Regions from separate parts of the Homo sapiens genome. Here region 2 is linked to region 1. The links are contacts of gene promoters, found by promoter capture Hi-C in human tissues and cell types (Jung and others, 2019). All regions are on one chromosome and are shown on one strand. The core of a region is centred on a gene start or on the middle of the fragment in contact, and the rest is flanking DNA. Distances in the headings are between cores, read along the strand shown.

Region 1 (4,531 bases), core at 1,147-3,646:
ATATTTTTTGGGGGGATTCTCTCCCCACCCCCTCTAGTTTTTGGTTCTTCAGGTTTAAGCTTGCCAATAATATTTTAAAAGACAAAAAAAAAAAAAAAGGCACTGATTCTGCTTAAAACCAAACCGTACCCGGGAAAGGAATTCAAGTACAATCCCTTCCCTAAGGTTTTAAAAACAAAAACAACGCAACAAACAAAAAAACCATCGTCAACTTTCAATCCTGTCAGTCACCTACGTGTAAGTGAAACTTCAGAAGCTGCTGATGGGGAGCCCGCGGTTGTTAAACGCTCCTAAGACTCCCACCTAAATCCCGCAGGAGCCCGCACTGAAACTGACAAACACCCGAGGGTTCACAAAGTGGCCACAGATGAGAAGAGGAACAAAATGCCATATTCCAGGAGGTGTATTTCGCTCCAACAATTACGTTGATCCCAGGGTGCCAAGCCAAAAGGGGTAAGGGAGAAAGAAAACTGTTAAGTATGAGCCCTTAATGTGAAACCTAACCTGTTGGTTCTCTTAGGTATCAGATTTTGGAAGTGTCTGTAATGACAGCCAGGAAAGCAAACTAATGGCCAACGGCCCACTGGGTTTGAACACCAGAGTCCTGTTACCTCCTCACAGATCAAGTACACAACACACACACACACACACACACACACACACGAAGTTGCTCCACGTGGAACTGCTCTGGAACCAAAACACACGCCCGGGCGCTATTCTGCACCTTGGCAGAAAGGGCAGAGGGACCTGCACCTTCCTCCCCTGCCCTCAGGTTAAGATTCATGAATGACTCTCTAGGCCCGCTCGGGATGGCGGGGAGAGGCGCAGGAGACGCGGTGAGAGAGGACAGTCTCCACACCACTCTCCCGCACACACTCTCACCCCAGGCGCAAATCCGTTGTCTTCATAGGAAGGAGAAAGAGGGGTGGTGGTGAAGGGAAACACTATCCTCCCAAGCAGGGAAGAGATGACAAAAATTAAATTGCGCTCTCTGCTTTCGCCCCAGCTCTGCCACCGGACTCGGTCCGCAAATTCCCTAATCGCTCCGAGCTGTTCAGAATCTCGCAAACAAAGGGAGAAAACTCTTTCAAGTGCTACCAAACGAAAGTTCGGGTTGCTGTGCGGCGCAGAATAAAACAAGCACACACACGTCTACTTCCAAACCTCGCTTCACCACGCTAAAAATCCGAGCCATTTCAAGTTCCACTGCCTCCCCAGACCCAGCAGGCTTGGAAGGAGAGAAAAACCTGCTCTACCCAGCCAGGTCCCTTCCTTTGGAGAAGTTATAAGCCTTCCATGGCACCCGCTACTCGAGCCAATGAACGCGACTGCTCTGACAAGGCGCCTCTAATTTCACCGACCCTGGCAAACTGCAGGAGACATTCAGTCCACGCCACATAAAAACTATTAAAGTGGGATCGCCGCAGTTGAAAAGCCCGATCAGTGCCTGGAGATTAGAACGCGAGCCTTTAAAGTACACACGCACCCGGCACCGGGAAAGCCCAGGCGCCTGTGACCCTCCGAAGGACTCTGGGTCAGCATCCTCGCGCCTGGACCATCTAGGGGGTCATCAGAAAGTAATACACGTCATAAGAAAGATGTGGGGGAGACCCCGATGCTCGCGCCTCTGCCAGGTGGAGGCGGGGTGCAGGTAGAAGCCGCGCGCTGGACTGCTGGATGAACTCCGTTACGCGCAGGCTCCGCGCCGACCCCGGAAGGGACAGGCAGGCTCGGAAGGGACCCTTGGGGCTTGGGGACGTCTTCTAGGGCAGAGAGCACCGCTGCGGTCCGAGCGGCCCGGGCCCTCAGGCGTGGGGCACCCGGCCTCCAAGCGCCCCCCGGGGACGCAGGCGCCCACGCACCGTCCAGCTGCGCGTCCTCAGTACCCAGCGCTCGGCGTCCCCGGCGGAGCCTCGCGCACTTTCCCGGAAAGTTTGGGGGTTCTCTCAACTCAGGCTCCCCCGGGAGCCCTGGGGCGGGGGTTGGAAGAAGGGGTCACTCACCTCGTCGCCCGGTCCGCCTCGGGTTCCCGAAGTGTCTGTCCCAGCCGCGGTTCAGTGCGTCCGTAATTAAGTATTTATTCTCGTTCCTTCCAGTGTCGAAGTTTCCCCTTCGCGCTGTGCCTCTGGTGAAAACAGGACATCCCCTTCGGCCACCCCACAACAAATAGCGTACACAAGCGGGGGAGAAGCGGGGCGGAGGGAGAAGCCGGCTCCGAGGGGGAGGAGGAAAGGAGAGGAGCCAAAACTCCGGACTGCGACAGGGGGGAAAGGAGAAGAAAAGAAAATGAGAGAGCGCGCCCAGCCGCCGCAGTCGTCACTCCCCGGCTTTTCCCGCAGCTCTTTCCCCCTCTCTAAGGCAGCGACAACTTCACGTGGACAGGATGGAAGTTTTGCGCGGAAGCCGGGAACGGCCGGAGCGTGCGCCGCGCTGCCGGCAGCCTCGCACTTGCGCAGGGAGGTGGGGCGGGGGCGACGTCGCCACCGGCTACTGCGGGCTCGTGAGGCCGCCGGGGGCCTCGGGGGAGGCCGCCAGGGACGCGGGGGGCGGCGGCGCGCGGGGGACCCACTCCGTTTTTATTTGACCTCGGGTGACTGCCTATTGTCATGGTTTGCGATCTCGCGTGGGGACCGCCCAGGGCCTCGGGGCCCTGGATGTCCCGGGTGGCGCCGCCGTAATCTCCGTGCCCTCCGCGCCGCCCCCACCCCGCCCCCACCCGGGCCGACTCGAGCGGCTGCAGCCTCCAGGCTGAGGGGAGGGACCCGCGACCGCGCTCTCCTCCCTGGGCCGGAGAGCCACTGTCGATCCCCACCTGCTTCTGTGGGGCAGCCCCCGGAATTGCCTGGAACTCTCTCGCTACCCAGTTCCCCTGTGCAGGCCACTGCGGGCCCCCTGCCGGACTCCTTTCCACTTACCCCAAGGGAGGAGACAGAAGGGACTTCGCCTACTTGCAACAACGTGAAATAAAAACCAACCCAGACCAGACTGGGGCGCTTTTTCTGACGGGAGGAAATACCCTTTTCCGTGGAGATATATGTTATGAAGGACTAAGCGGTCTGGGGATAGGCTGTGCTGCGAAGGGCCTGGGCCCCTTCCAGTGCTGCTGGGTGCAGGTATAGGCATCCGTCCCAGACGCCCAAAGGTCAGGCAGCAACGACTTACTTCCAAGGCGGCGTCAGAGCTTCTCTAGGCACATTGCTGAAATGACATTTCGTGTCTAAGCCTTCTGCGCATGCACTACGCGACTACATAGGATTTACGATTTTATACCCACACGTGTGTATGCCACAACCAGGGGACACAGCAAAGGTAGACGGAATAAACAATCCATAAATTTTGCATCCATTTAATCACCTCTTCCAAAAACCTATTGTCTATTTTAGCGGCACCTTCTCTGTCATATTGATAATAAATGTTTTAATTTATTGATAAATCACTGAGTGTCAATCATTGTATTGGTCACTTATGGTACATGAGTTCATTTAACTTCCATGACAACTCTACGGTGGTCATTATTAAGCCGGTATAAAAGATGAGGAAACCAAAGCCCAAAGAATCATGAGTGACTTTTCCAAAGACAAATCCAGTGGTCTCTAATCACAAAGCCTATGATACAACAACCTCTACATTACCTTAGGTGTGGTCTAAGAGATTACAGATTAATCCGTAGAAATTACTCCCATTCAAAGAAAGTTTAGTTTTAATATATTCACTAAGTTACGTTCTGAAAAAGGTTCAGAAAAAAGATTTCATCCTCTACTTTAGGTTGGTCTTATGCAACTGATATGAGCACTGTCTAATTCAAAAGCAGTATCAACCCTGAATACTTATGGTTACAATTTATTTTTTAATGAGTGGGGAATTATCTACAATGCTTAAGAGGCTCTAGAAAAGGTGGTGTTGTAAATTTAAAATGATAAAGGCAGTCGTTGCTGCTCTCATCACTTACTGGGTGTTCTTTCCTGCAGATTTATTTTGGAGGGTGTAGGCATTGCCAGGCATAATGTTTCCTTTTCTGGTTCTCAAGGTAGAAAGGGTTCTGGCAGTGGGGTTGGCACAAAGCGGATTTGGAGCATGGTTGAGAGCACATTCTGGCCTAACGAGGAATGCCAGTTAATATACACTGGAGAGAAAAATATGAATGGACAGATTTAATTAATTTTGCAGATTTATTTTCTCCATTTCACATGTGAGAAAACTAAGGGCTCAGAATTTTTAGAAGCTTGCTAATAAATGGCAGACCTGAGTTTCAAGCCAGCCTTTATTTAAGTCCACTCTTAGTCACTGTGATGCTATTATTAGTATTAATGGTATTCAGAAAAATAGTAATTCTTTTAAATATGTAATATATTACAAGCCAAATATGCAATTTAAATGTTTTGTGAATCATAGTGTCTAAGAATGTTCTGTGGCTATAGCAAATATCATGTAAGGATTAAGTACAATGATGAATTTAATACTGTCCTCAAAAGGCAACAACATTTTGAATTTCATTTTGGCATAAAACATTATGTGCTAGTTTCACCTACAA
Region 2 (4,531 bases), core at 1,279-3,778, 58 kb after region 1:
CCTTATAAATTACTTTTCCATATTTTAAAATGTAGTTGTGTTTTCAAGGAAAAAATGGCCAAAAAATATGAGCCGTTATTTGTTGGCCACCACGAACCTTTAGATAAAGTAGGTATAAATCACAGTAAGCAATAAAATTTCATCCTAACTATAAACCACAACTTTATTGAAGAAATGTCTATTAAACTTGTGTTGTCTCATTTTCATTTTACCTGAACATTAATGTATGAGTTTCATTTGAAAGCTAACAGTTAACAACCCATGTTTCATATTCTAATTAACATAAGGGACATCTGTTTCAATTAGAGAAAGCAAACTTCCTAAAGATTCTATGATGAACTGCTTTTATCCTCTGTGAGCTAGGGAAGTGGATTATATATAACACATGAAGAAATAAAAAACAGTAAAGAGCAAAGATGCCAAGCCCCTGAAATATATAATTGAATAATAATAATTGAAGTACACACGTCAAGTTGTGTGTGTAGCAAGTTCAACCCACAGAAGCACAGACCTAATGAAATGGTTTCTTGATTTTTAATCTCCATAAACCTTTCCTCCTGCCTTTAACTCTTATAGGTTTGAATACAAATCAAACATAGACCTTAACTTCATCTGAAGAAGCTGGAGTCCAAAAAACAAACAGAAAACAAAACAACTTCTGCAATGGTTTAAGCAGACTAACAAACGTGTGCTTTGATGGATGATTAAAAAGCCCTCAAAGTTAAAGGGGCACAGCTGAGTACATGGCCTACCTTAATATTGCTGTAGTGAGTAATGAGATGCCTCTGGCTTATAAGTACCTAATTGTAATGAAATAATCCAGCCCAATCTTTAAAATTAAGGTAAAGTAAATTCTATTATTTGTGGTATACATAAAAAAGCAATGCGAGAGCTCCCCCTATTGACCCACAATAAAGTATAATGTACCCTGAAATATACTTCCAAATATACATAAACAATATAAAATTTCAGAAGTTTAAGGGATTTTTTTTTTTTAAAGATTGAGTTCATCAGTTTATCTTTGTAGAATCTGAGGCCTAACAACATTTATTGTCATGGGACAAATTAGAGTGGCAGGTTTGTCTCTGCACTGTTTTCTCTGTATTATAGTTTGACATCATACAGTTTGTATAATTCAGAAGTAGGAAAGGGCTAAAGAGACCCCGTTGACCTAACTCCAACTATCTCTGGTCAAATGGACCCAGAGATGCTAAGGGATCTGTATAGGTTTATGGCTTTTTACTAATAGTTGGGAATCAGAATTCCAGTTATATGTTATCTTTCTATTATTTCTGCTCTGGCAGTGTGTTTTGTTTTGAGCCCGACATTTTTATGTTCTTTTTGTAATTTAAGAACATGTTGTTCAAAAATATAAGAATTTGAAGTTCTGGAAAACAAGAGGACATTCGTGGTCAGTAAATTAACTATTCTTCGCCTTCTGATGACACATATTTTTTGTAAACTAACTAGCAAATGCATATTGATAGGGTCTTTATATTTTCATACATGCCCTCAGCTATTAAAATATTTATATGATATGTGTAATTGCTGAAAATGGTAACCTGCTCCTATTATGAAATCACAAAAAACATGAAATATATTTCTCTGATGTGCTTTCTGGTGAAAATATTTATTGGTCACTAATTTGTTAGTATTTATTGGTAATTAATTGGTCAGCATTTATATTAACACTACCATTCCTGTAATTAACCATGAGATGTTATTGATTATATTTATGACATGAACAGGGTTTTTCTCCCTATACTTGAAGGTATGTGAAGATATGTGTGAAGGTATGTGAAGTATGTATGAGTTCAATTAGTATGTTAACTCCTAGAGGGCAAGGGTTATTTTGTGCATCTATTTTTACGCATCTTTTTTTTCAAAGAACACAGATGCAATGAACACAGGGCTTTGAATGCAAGTTTTTGATTTGTCACTGCTTGTTATGCAGCTTCTATTGAAGTCTGCTCACAGGTGCCACTACTGATAGTCCTATTTCCGTTGGAGTGCTTTCCAGAATCCCACAACCCTAATGCCATACTCTACACATGACATTCTTTCAAAATGCTGAGGTCATGTACATATATCAAATTACCTTCCTTCATCCTATATGCTTAGCCTCTATTGTAGTTGATTGTAGAAATGTATGTGCAGAGAAATCAAATGAAACCATATTTACTGAAGAAAATCTTGTGCTTGGTGGTGAGAAGGGTAAGATCTCTGTTTTCAAATAATTTAGGACTAGAAAAGAATAATCCTGTTTCCTTAAAAAGTTGACCATCATCTATGTATTCTTCATACTTCTATCATTAAAAACATAAAAGTAACAGAAATGAGGGTTTTTTTTCATCAAAATGAAGTGTATACATGGCTTTTCTTTTCTCTGGTGTTGCCCCTCTGTTTTAAATTCTTCAGTTGTCTGTTACCTTTCTGTATCCTTCTTCATCCTACCCCCAAAACCCATAAGAAAGAAGCAGTCTTCTTAGAAGCTCAATGCAGGCAAATACAACGTATACAATATAGTTAAGTTTGAGAAACAGATTATTGCACTGCAAGATGCTACCCTCAAAGTGGAAATCACATAATTATGTATCAGCTCCCAAATTTGATTTTGCCTTTCAAAGAAGATTAATTTATAATGGTTAAAAGGCATTTTATTTATTTCTCCCATAGACACACAAACATTTCCTTAAGAAGTGTATAGAAGTGTATAGAATTGATGTAAGAAGTGTATAGAATTCATCATACTTGATGAATATATAATGGAGCTAATAAAACATACCACTGCCTTCTAGACATCTAATACCCTTACGGTAAGTTTGACCCTTGGTTAAGCACATCTTGTCTTTTAGTCACTTAAAAAAACTTTTTCAGAATTAATAATTTCATGGACATTGGGTAAATTAGTTGCTAGCTTCAGTTTCTGGTTTTCCAGAACTCTTCCTGGAATTTAGAATTAGAAGATAAAAATAAGTCATATTAAGGTAACTTTGATAGTAGAACTTTCAGATTTGGAAAAATAAGAACTAATGGGTGTTAGTAGGTCCTACAATATAATACGAATGAGCAATCTCATATATGATCAGGGGATGCTGAGTCTGGCCAGGGTTAGAGATGAAGCCAAAAGAAGGAAAAGAAGGCAGGTGACGCCAGAAGGATGCTATCTAGCCTCCATAGGATGTTAAATCACCCAAATTATTATAGCATCGGAAAATCAATTGGCTTCCTTTGTATTTTTTCCCTTTAGCCCTATAGCTGTATACATTCTTGTGTGAGGGTAGGGTTGGGGATAGGGGTGGTGGATTGTAGGGTGGAGGGCACTGGTGAAAGGCACTCAGCACAGTCAGGTGACATAAAGTTTAGCCATTGGCAAGTAAGAACAGTAAAGCTCGTAGCCACATTACTTGCTGAAGACATCTTTAAAATAAATATTAATCTCCACTGACCTGATCCCAGGCTCAGCTGTCAGTGTCATGGGATAAACCCAGATTTTAGCAGCAGACATTTTTGGTAACCAGCCATTAGACAACAGGCAAGCGCTTTACTTTCATTGAACCTCATTTCCTGTGCACAAAATGTTAAGATAGTTGCACGAAGATAGTGGTATTTAACTTTCATGGTGGTTGTGAGAATTAAATGAGATAAGGCATGTAAAATACCAAGTAGGCAGTAAATTATAAGTATGAATATCAGATAAAACTTGATCTAAGAATGAGGACAAGAGACATTATAGAAGAAAGGGCTAACTACAGTTCTGGAAGAGTTTTACTTCAGAAATCCAGTGATGATATAAATTCAGGTATCTGTCCCCCACCCGCTTTTTTATTTTTATTTTTTGAGACAGGGTTGCACTTTGTCACTCTTGCTGAAGTGCAGTGGCGAAATCATGGATCACTGCAACCTCCACCCCCTGGGCTCAAGTGATCCTCTCACCTCAGCCTCCAGAGTGACTGAGGCTACAGGAACGTGCCACCAGGCCCGGCTAATTTTTGTGTTTTTGTAGAGATGGGGGTCTCATCATGTTGTCCAGGCTGATCTCAGATTCCTGAGCTCAAGCCATGTGCCTGCCTCCAGACCTCCCAAAGGGCTGGGATTACAGGCGTGAGCCACCACACCTGGCCTAGATATCCATTTCTGAAATACTCGGAGTAGTAAGTCAAAAGGTAAAAACCACATGATTATTTTGATAAATTCTGAAAAATCATTTGATAATATTTTACATTCATTTTTGACTAAAAGTAAACTTTAATAAATTAGAATTTAAAAGATACTTTTAATGCAGTTAAAATGTATATACTTGTTGGTAAAACAAAATGCAATTAAACCAAGGATAAAGCAAGAAGGATGGCCATCCCCATATTGTTTAATATTGGTCTTGTAGAATTATCATTCCAGTGGATGAAATATTAAGAACTGGATAAAAAGATGCAATAATGTATAGAGGATATGGTTTAAATCTGGAAAATCCAAGATAATTATCCTAAAGAAGAAAAAAATCTTATTTGTAAAATACTTTCTTAATCCAAGT

The links. The method cuts DNA at HindIII sites, captures the fragments that hold promoters and counts their contacts. A contact is called where the count stands out against the background at its distance.
Region 2: a fragment that was not itself captured here is called in contact with the fragment with the promoter of EYA4 in region 1 in 1 of the 25 tissues and cell types used here (IMR-90 fibroblasts).

What each region holds. Positions count from the first base shown.
Region 1 is chr6:133,239,222-133,243,752 of GRCh38, reverse strand. EYA4 (EYA transcriptional coactivator and phosphatase 4) reads right to left here and starts at 2,396. Exons shown (of 20, transcript NM_004100.5): 1 at 2,004-2,396. It overlaps LOC124901231 (serine/arginine repetitive matrix protein 1-like), which reads left to right. Exons shown (of 3, transcript XM_047419612.1): 2 at 1,342-1,534; 3 at 2,097-3,433. The coding sequence ends at 2,967. RefSeq lists enhancers at 266-1,158, 1,159-2,053. The HindIII fragment of the contact is 6,618 bases long and covers 1-4,531 here.
Region 2 is chr6:133,181,367-133,185,897 of GRCh38, reverse strand. No RefSeq gene overlaps it. Among named protein-coding and RNA genes, the nearest start is that of EYA4, 58 kb to the left of the region's middle. The HindIII fragment of the contact is 5,248 bases long and covers 1-4,531 here.